2 separate regions of the Homo sapiens genome follow, and region 2 is linked to region 1. The links are contacts of gene promoters, found by promoter capture Hi-C in human tissues and cell types (Jung and others, 2019). All regions are on one chromosome and are shown on one strand. Each heading gives the region's core, a stretch centred on a gene start or on the middle of the fragment in contact. The rest is flanking DNA. Distances are from core to core; before and after follow the strand shown. Region 1 holds the start of PAX7 (paired box 7). Region 2 has its middle 60 kb from the start of TAS1R2.

Region 1 (4,207 bases), core at 726-3,225:
ATTCCTGACGCGCGCTTAGAGCCATACCAAGGCAACCTGGAGGTGACCTCAAAGCAGAAATACAGACATGGACCCTCACTTAGAAACACACATTTACTCAAACTGACCCCAAACAGACCTACACACAAAACCCACCTGCACCTTGACACACAGACCCGGGCACAGGCCTATATTCACACGCAAGCACACTGGCCCATTCCACAAATACAGGGAAGAAGTGCCTTGAAACCTTCCAGGCAGAGGACAGCTAGTGACGAATGAATGGATGAATATGCAATATACCTAATATATATGTGTGTGTGTTATACGTGTGTATGCATAAGTGTATATGATACAAATACATGTATATATACACACAGAGAATATATATCCACCTATGGAGGTCAAAGCAGGCCAGGTCCCCAGCAAGGCTGGTGATGTAAGGGGGTTGCTGTCTTCCCTGGGCACACATGCTATGGCTTAAAGCTTGATCTCCCAATCTCTCCCGGGGGAGGGCCCCATAACTTGGGCCAGGCAAAGTACCCCGGTGTCCCCCTTCCAATTCGAAAGCTACTTGGCATCTGTCTTCTCAGTTAGAGAGAGTATGAGCTCAACAAGTTTTTCATCAGGGCCCCCATTCCCAGAAGGCCCCCCCAAAATCTGATGAGCCCCTTGTGCTAGGAGAGTGGGGAGAGGAGGGAGATCTGTCACATGCTGCAAGGGGCAAAGGTCACAGGTGAGGCGAAGGGGAGGGATGGGGACACCCTGGGGCCAGCCAGCGGTGAGCGCCCCAGGCTAAGACAAGGCTGACCCCACTGCCGAGAGAGGGCGGGCAGGGGGTGAGATTGAGGGCTGGGTTCATTTTATTGTATTTTGCCTCCAGCGTGGGGCCAGAGACGCTCTTTCCCCCGGGAGACAAAAGGCCTGCAGTTGTGGCGTCCTGCCCCGCTGGGAGGGCGTTTCGCCCCCAGGACTCGGTGTCCCGAGGTTGAGGCTACTGGTCACCCTGGCTTCAGAAAGCGAAGAATTCAGGAACCTCTGATCACCCCACCCTGACTCCTGATCATTCAGTTGGGGCGTCCCCTCAAACCCACCAGCAAGGAGCTCAGAGTTGGTGAGTTCAGAGCTGTATCAAGTCTTGACGGGCTCCCTCCCTCCCATTTCCCACCTCTTTGGGCCCCCAGATCCTCACACCAGCACCAACTCCCTGTAAACCCAACTACCTGCTGGAAAGGAGTTATAGGCCCGGCCTGGGGGCCTGAGGAGGACGGCGGCGGCTGGAGACGTCTGCACGGGGCGGAACTGGAAGGGGAGGAAGAAACCTGTGCCTAGCACTTGGCAGACCCACTTTGCCAAGCCTCGGAACCAGATACGGTTACTGGGGGCTTCTCAGAGCGGCAGGAAGGTAGAGTAAGAACCGGACACCGGGGCTCTGACATTACACAGAAAAGGTCAGAATTCCTCCCTTCAAGTCACCCTAGGCCGGTTCCCGGGGAGCCTCACTGGAGGAATTTCAGAGGGTGTAAGACGAGGGAGAAGATGAGAAATAGGGCGGACTCTGGCCCTCGGAGGCCAGAGAAAAGGCGAGACTCCAGAGAGGCGCCGGACCCGAGGCAGACATTCCCATACAGCCGGGACTCCGAGAGCAGCCGTGGGCGACCTGGGGGCCGGGGACTCGGCGGATCCGGCCCATTCATCAAAGGAAGGCACTGGGACAAAGTTGGCCCCCTCCCCTTCTCCCCCAGCCCCCAACTCGCCGGGATCGGCTCCCTCTCTTTTCACGGCGGTTCAAATTCTCCCCCAAAACGAGGTCGAGCCGGGGATTAGAAAAGAGGGAAAAAAATATTCGTTGGCGATTTCTTTTCGTTATTGGTCCTCCGCTCCCTTGCGCCCTGGCCCCCTTCCCTCCTCATGAATAAAAGAAAAGTCCGAACCTATCAGATCGCGCTCACTGCCTCCTCCTCCTCCTCCTCCTCCTCCTCCTCGTACTTCGGTGAACACTTTTGCACAACTTACCCAGCTGATCACTCGCGCCCCCTCGCTTTTCCATTTCTCTTTCCCCAACCCCGTCACCCCCTGTCTCCTCCGTCCAGCCCTGAAACCCGAGGAGGCTCCTTCTTCCGTCTGTCCCCGGGTCTCCTAGGGGACGGGGCTGTGAAAGCTGGTGTGGAGGGAGAAGCGAGTGTGGTCCGGAGAAAGAAGGCGTGGAGAAGAGGGAGGGAGCGAGAGCGAGAGAATAAATATATAAATAAATACGAGAACGAAATCCACTCCGCAGTCTCCGGGCTCGGAAACTTTGGCCCCGAGCGCCAGAGCGCCAGAGCGCGAGAGCGCGGCGCTCGCCACTCTGAGGCTGGCGGCCTCGATTCCGGCCGCGTTCCCCCGGCCCCCCTCCGCCGCGGGGCCTGGTCTCCGGGTTCTGCCAGGCGCATCAGCCCGCACAACTTCTGGCCGAGGCCAGCCGGCAGAGGCGGACTTGGGGTTGGAGTGTTTGTTTGTTTGAACTTCCTCGTCGTCGCCACCTTCCCTCCCCCCAACCTCCACCCCACCTCACCCCCCTCCCCAGCTTCTGGACGCGTTTGACTGCAGCCAGGGGTGGGGGGTGGGGGTAGGGAGTGTGTGTGGAGGGGAGGGAGAAGAGGTTAAAAAAAAGAAGACGAAGAAGACGGAAAGAAAGAGATCGCAGCAGGGGTGAAGGGAGCGGACGGGAAGCGATTTTTGCCGACTTTGGATTCGTCCCCGGCGTGCGCAAGAATGGCGGCCCTTCCCGGCACGGTACCGAGAATGATGCGGCCGGCTCCGGGGCAGAACTACCCCCGCACGGGATTCCCTTTGGAAGGTAAGAACGCCCAGGCTGGCCTCGCCGCGACTCCGCCGCCCGGAACTCGGGGTCCTTGGAGAGGCTGCGGTCTCCAGGGGACGGTGGCGGCGCCGGCGATAGCAGAGGGATCCCGTTCTCTTCTGGGTCCCAGTCCGGGCGCGGAACCCAGGGAGTTTCTGGGACCCATACTTGTCCGCTTCTGCGTGGGTTTCACTGCCCGGCGGCCTTCGTTTCGCAGGTCGCTAGCTGCCGGTCTTTACCCGCAGGGCTGAAATTCTGGTAGATTTGGACTCCTAGTAAATATCAGGTCCTGGTGAATTTCAGCTCTTTCCACTATTTCCAGACACTTCTTCCCTGACAGTTTCTCGGCTCTCCTGGCTCGCTGGCTGCCAGCTTTCTACTCTTGTTTTGAATTATTTTTTCCACCCCCGGGATTGGTCTTCCAGTCCTTTATTTCGAACCACCTACCATGGGTGATACTTTATATGCCTCAACTACCACGGCTATCCATTTCTTCCGAAGCCACAGTCAAACACTCCTGCTTTTCCGCCTGGAAACAAACTAATTGGAAATAATAATTAGTAATGATTTTCCCCCTAAAACTTTTTACTCGGGCTTCCGCACTCTGGAAATCTCCCGGGAGAGAACCTCTAAACGGCGAGGTTTAGAGAACCTCTAAACGGCGAGAGGGGCACGGCAATGTCCAAACGAGAAGAAAGAGCTGATTTTGTAAAGCGTCCTTCCTAAACATCCAGCGCCCGCCCGGGGAGACCCGATAGGACGGGCGGCGGCGAACCGGGTCCTGGCTGGAGAAAAGGCTGGGAGCGCACAGCGGAGAGACCCGCTCCTGTGTTTTTGTTCTGTTTTCTTTTTAAACTAATGGAAGGCCTCAACCTGTCACTGAGGGATCATTTGGCTTCTGAGGGTAGGTAGCCTAGGGTGTCACAGAGAAGTCATTAGAAATATGTGCGACTTTTTTTTTTTAAATTACTCTTCCTGTGATCGTTTGAGTCCCTGGCGCGTGAGGAAGGGGAGAGGAGGCAGGGAGGGGGTGGGTGGGCTGGCAGCCTGCGATCCGGGAGGAGCTCCCTTGGGCAGCGAGACGGCGCCGGGTCCCTGAATTAGACAGAGGCGAAGAGAGCGGCTCCGTGATCAAGTGCGCGCCGGCAGCCACGCAGGCGGGAGAGCGCGCAAACCCGGGGATTTGCAGTGGCACTCTCCTGTAGCGAATGCAAGTAAAACAGGCGGCTGAGGACGCGCGGCGGATTAGAACAATATTTGCCCAACATGACGCAGAATACTGAGGAGAGCCGAGTGCCGGTCGCTAAAGAGGCTCTTGAATATAAAGTTGGGCGCTCGAGAGCTCTTGAGCGCTAATGGCATATCCCGCCACGGAGACCGAGTGAC
Region 2 (4,207 bases), core at 1,211-3,710, 170 kb after region 1:
TTGAAATGATGAAATCATAGATCAACAGATTAGAGACTGCCAGAGGTTAAGGATGGTTGTGGGAGGAAGGAGAGCGTGGTTATAAAGGGGTAGCACAGGGGTCTTTGTGTTCTGTATATTGGGTGTGGTGGTGGTTACACAAATCTACACATGTGAAAAAATGGCAGGGAACTGGCTGGGCTAGGTGGCTTATGCCTGTAATCCCAGCACTTTGGGAGGCCAAGGCGGGCAGATCACTTGAGGTCAGGAGTTCGAGACCAGCCTGGCCAACATGGCGAAACCCTGTCTCTACTAAAAATACAAAAATTAGCCAGGCATTGTGGCACACACCTGTAGTCCGAGCTACTCGGGAGGCTGAGGCAGGGGAATCACCTGAACCTGGGAGGCAGAGGTTGCAGTGGGCCGAGATCACCTCACTGCACTCCAGCCTGAGCAATGGAGCAAGACTCTGTCTCAAAAAAAAAAAGAAAGAATAAAAAAAAAGAAAAAAAGAAAAGAAAAAAAGCAGGGAACTATACAACACATTGTCCCAATGTCAACTGCCTGGCTTTGATATCAAACTAGAGCTATGTAAGATGTCACTATTGGGGAAAACTGGGTGAAGGGTACATGGAACCCCTCTGTACTATCTTTGCCAATCCCTGCGAATCCATAGTGATTTCTAAATAAAGATTTTTTTTAAGCAGGATTCAAAAGTCTATACAGCATGGCTCTAATGATGGGATGACGGTTGTGGGGAAGGTGGAGGCCGCTTTTCCATAATAACACCATGGTAGACTCACATGATCCCTGAAAGGCTCTTTACAAGCATCAGCTCATCTTATTCAGACAATCCTCCCATGATGTTGAAAGGGATTCTTATTCCCATCTTACAAAAAAGGAAACTGAGTCTCAGGAAATTGGAGTCGCTGTCCCAGGGGCAGAAGAGAAATTTAAGCCCAAAGTGTCCTACTTTCAACCCCCCCCCCACCTGCCCCTCGCCTCTGCTTTAGTCTCATTTGCCATTGGGTGGTGGTGTTTATTTTCTTCTTTCTACTTCTCTGTATTTCCTCTAATAAGCATGCCTTCCTGTAATAATCAGAAGAAAAAATAAGCAAACACTAGAAAGTGTTCCTTGGTGGGTTGCCTGTTTCTTCTGGAGCCTGTGGCACCACAGTCTACGATTTCTGTCTCCTTGGCACTCTCCTGGCTGCCCAGGACGGCAGCCGCCTCCAGGGCCTTCTGCCACACGCACCCCCACTTGCCCACTGTAGACAGTGGGGTCTGCAGTCAAAGCCCCAGGGCTGCTCACACACACTAGGAGCCCTAGCACAAAACTCTTAACCTGGGAGCCTCAGATTCCTCATCTGCAAAATGGGAATTAGTAATACTTCCCGCTTGTCAAGGTTGTTGTGAAGATCCAATGGAATAAGATGGTAATATTCCACCGATATTTGCTGTGTGCCTACTGTGTGAGAGCATTTGATCATTTGCAAAACTGAACGCTGCCTCAAATCCCTCCTGGACCATGGTGAGGTAGGAATTGCTAAGTAAACATCACGGCTGTTATCGTTGTTCTTGTCCCTGCCTAGCTGGCGGCAGCCTTGTACATCCAGACGGGCAGTGGTTCCTTGGGAACCTCGCAGAACCGGGTGGAACCGAGCCTCCCTGGGAATGGCAGCCCCAGAGGAGAGTGGAACATGCCACAGCCCACAAGACCCCGAAAGACCCCGCTAGACCCCGCTTTGCCTGCTGGTTTTCTGCACCAAGAATCGATTTTCAAGGGTGTTTCCCAGAAGTGGTCTGGCCTCTCTGGTATCATCATTCATCCCACCCTGGCCGCCAGCCACTCCTCACCAAGCCCTCTCTGCCCTGACCGCCTCTTGTAATTGGGGCCCCCATCACAAGTGAGAAGGGGGAGCAGCTGGGACAGGAAGCCGCTTCCTGAAAATACCCTGACCTCACCCATGAGGGTCTGGATGCCAGCACCCCCTGCCCGCCATGTCCTGGCCTTCACCCCCTGAGGCCCTTGGCAAGGCTGGGCCAGGAATGCCACACTGGGGCCAGGGGAGCCTTTCCCAGGCTGGGGCTTAGAGAAGAAGGGTCTAGGCCAAGTGGTCAGAGCTGAGGGTGGGGTACTTCCTGCGTTCCAGGGGGAAACGAAGCCACTGCCAGCTTCCCATGCTCATCCCAGCTTGCAGATGTTCCAGAGAGTGTTCAGAGGAAGTGCAAGGATTAAGACAGGGAGTAGGGGACAGAACAGGAGAGGATCCACCCAGGGAAGGTGAGAGAAGAGCCCTGGAGAGGTCACAGGGATCAGTGGGAGGAGCCTGGGACAGAGGACACACAGGCTGCCGCTGCTGCTGACCTGCTGCATGACCCTGGGACAGTCACATCCCACTCTGGACCTCAGTCCATCTGCAATCCAAGGGGGCTAAACAAGACAGTTTATTTCAAGAATTCACTCAGCACCTCCTGCTGCGGGCCCTGGGCTGGCCCCTGGGGGCAGAGAAGCAAAGGAGACAGGCCTCCTTCCTGCCCCCTGGAGCTAACTGTGGGTGGGAAGGCAGAGAACAAACAATTTCAATAAGGAATGTGAGATGGGAAGTGAAAGGGTGCCAGGGCAGACCGGGGTGCCAGGGGCTGGGAGGATGGGGCAGGGTCTTCCTGGGGGATCAGGAGGGCTTCCCTAAGGAAGGAAAGACCTGGATACATAGGAATCCACTGGATGTCCCAGACTCAGGGAATAGCATGGCTGGGACTGGGAAGCTGGTATACGGGGAGGACCAAAAGGCCCAGGGGGGCTGGGCCATTGTCCCTGTTGGCCACGGTAAGGATTTTGATCCTCTAACAAGAAACCACGGAAGGGGAAGATGGAATAGAGGTGCTGCTGTGCCTGGGGCTGGGGCCTTCAGTCCCCTTCTCATTTGCAGAGGTGCCTCAGTGGAATCCCAAGGCCTCAAGGAACCCAGTTGGGAACCACTAGGGCGGCCAATTTCTAAGGACACTTCTGGGCTCCATGAGGATTCTAGGCCATCCCCAAGCTGCACTTGGGCCCATGCTAGCACCCTCCAGCAAGGCTTTGACCAAGCCCCACCCCAACCTGACCCAAGGGAGCAGCTCACCAGGGCCTCGTGCCCAAGAGGCTCATCACTGACCACCACCCCCCACCAAGTCTCAGGAAGTAAGGAGGGGAGAAGTGAGGTCATCTGGCCCCAAATAAAGGCTGGTTTCTGCAGATGTAAGGCCTTTCCTTCTTCCTTCCTCCTGTTCCGGCCCTTATCATGTCCAGGTCAGGCGCCACCTCTTGAGGAAAGCTTCCCTGGACCCCTTAGGCAGAGTTGATCCCTCCCTCCCTTTGGCTCCACGCCACTGTAGCCACTGATGATCTCACCAGTGTGTGAGTTCCCAGAGACAGGGGTGGCATGGCTGCATCTGTGCATTCATTCATTCGTTCATTCAACAGGGGCTGGGAATGCTGTGATGAACAAGGTAGGCCAGCTCCCTGTGCTCAGGGTGCTCGCAGTCACCTGTGACCTAAAATAGTGCCATATTTATCTTTGTACCTCAGGGGCCCTCTCAGGGCCTGGCACCAAGGGCCCCCAGTGAGTCTGCTGAATAAGTGGATCAGAGAACAACAAGGGTGGACAGAAAGAGAGTTAGGGGAATGTGGAAGTGGGGAGGAAAAGCCCCAGTAGGGAAGGTTCTGTGGGCCTCACCTTCCCCAGGTCTCACCCACATCCTAGGTTGCCCCCAACCTAGGGCAACTTCTCACCCAACTCAAGGACCTTGCTTAGCAGCGCTACCGGACACCCTGATCCCCTCCCTAACCCCACTGAACTGTGGCCATATGCTTTCCAGTCCATGCTGGATTTTTCAAAAGGAAAACAAGGAACGGCAAAGAAAACCAGATCCCAAAGAAAGCACACAGGCATGGCCGCAGGTACAGATGCCTTCAGGCAAGTCTGCCTGGACAGCTGAAGGGATGTTGGCCAAGGCATTGTTTCAGCATGGCTGGGCGGGTGCTGCACCCAGAACACAACAGCATCCCTCAAACCACCACCACCACCAACATCAGTAACAGTGTCAGCATCAACACCACCACGACCACCACCAAAACCAGTAATAACATTAGTACAAACACCACCACCACCACCACCACCACCACCAGTAACAATGTCAACACCAATACCACCACCAACACCAAAACCAGTAACAATGTTAGCAC

What was found. Contacts are between HindIII fragments. The study calls those that stand out against the background at their distance.
Region 2: a fragment that was not itself captured here is called in contact with the fragment with the promoter of PAX7 in region 1 in 3 of the 25 tissues and cell types used here (IMR-90 fibroblasts, aorta and mesendoderm cells).

Annotation. Positions count from the first base shown.
Region 1 is chr1:18,628,871-18,633,077 of GRCh38, forward strand. PAX7 (paired box 7) reads left to right here and starts at 1,976. Exons shown (of 9, transcript NM_001135254.2): 1 at 1,976-2,818. The coding sequence starts at 2,734. RefSeq lists promoters at 1,660-2,445, 1,849-2,759, 2,483-2,759 and enhancers at 3,299-4,207, 3,307-4,207. The HindIII fragment of the contact is 8,003 bases long and covers 1-4,207 here.
Region 2 is chr1:18,797,147-18,801,353 of GRCh38, forward strand. No RefSeq gene overlaps it. Among named protein-coding and RNA genes, the nearest start is that of TAS1R2, 60 kb to the right of the region's middle. The HindIII fragment of the contact is 8,367 bases long and covers 1-4,207 here.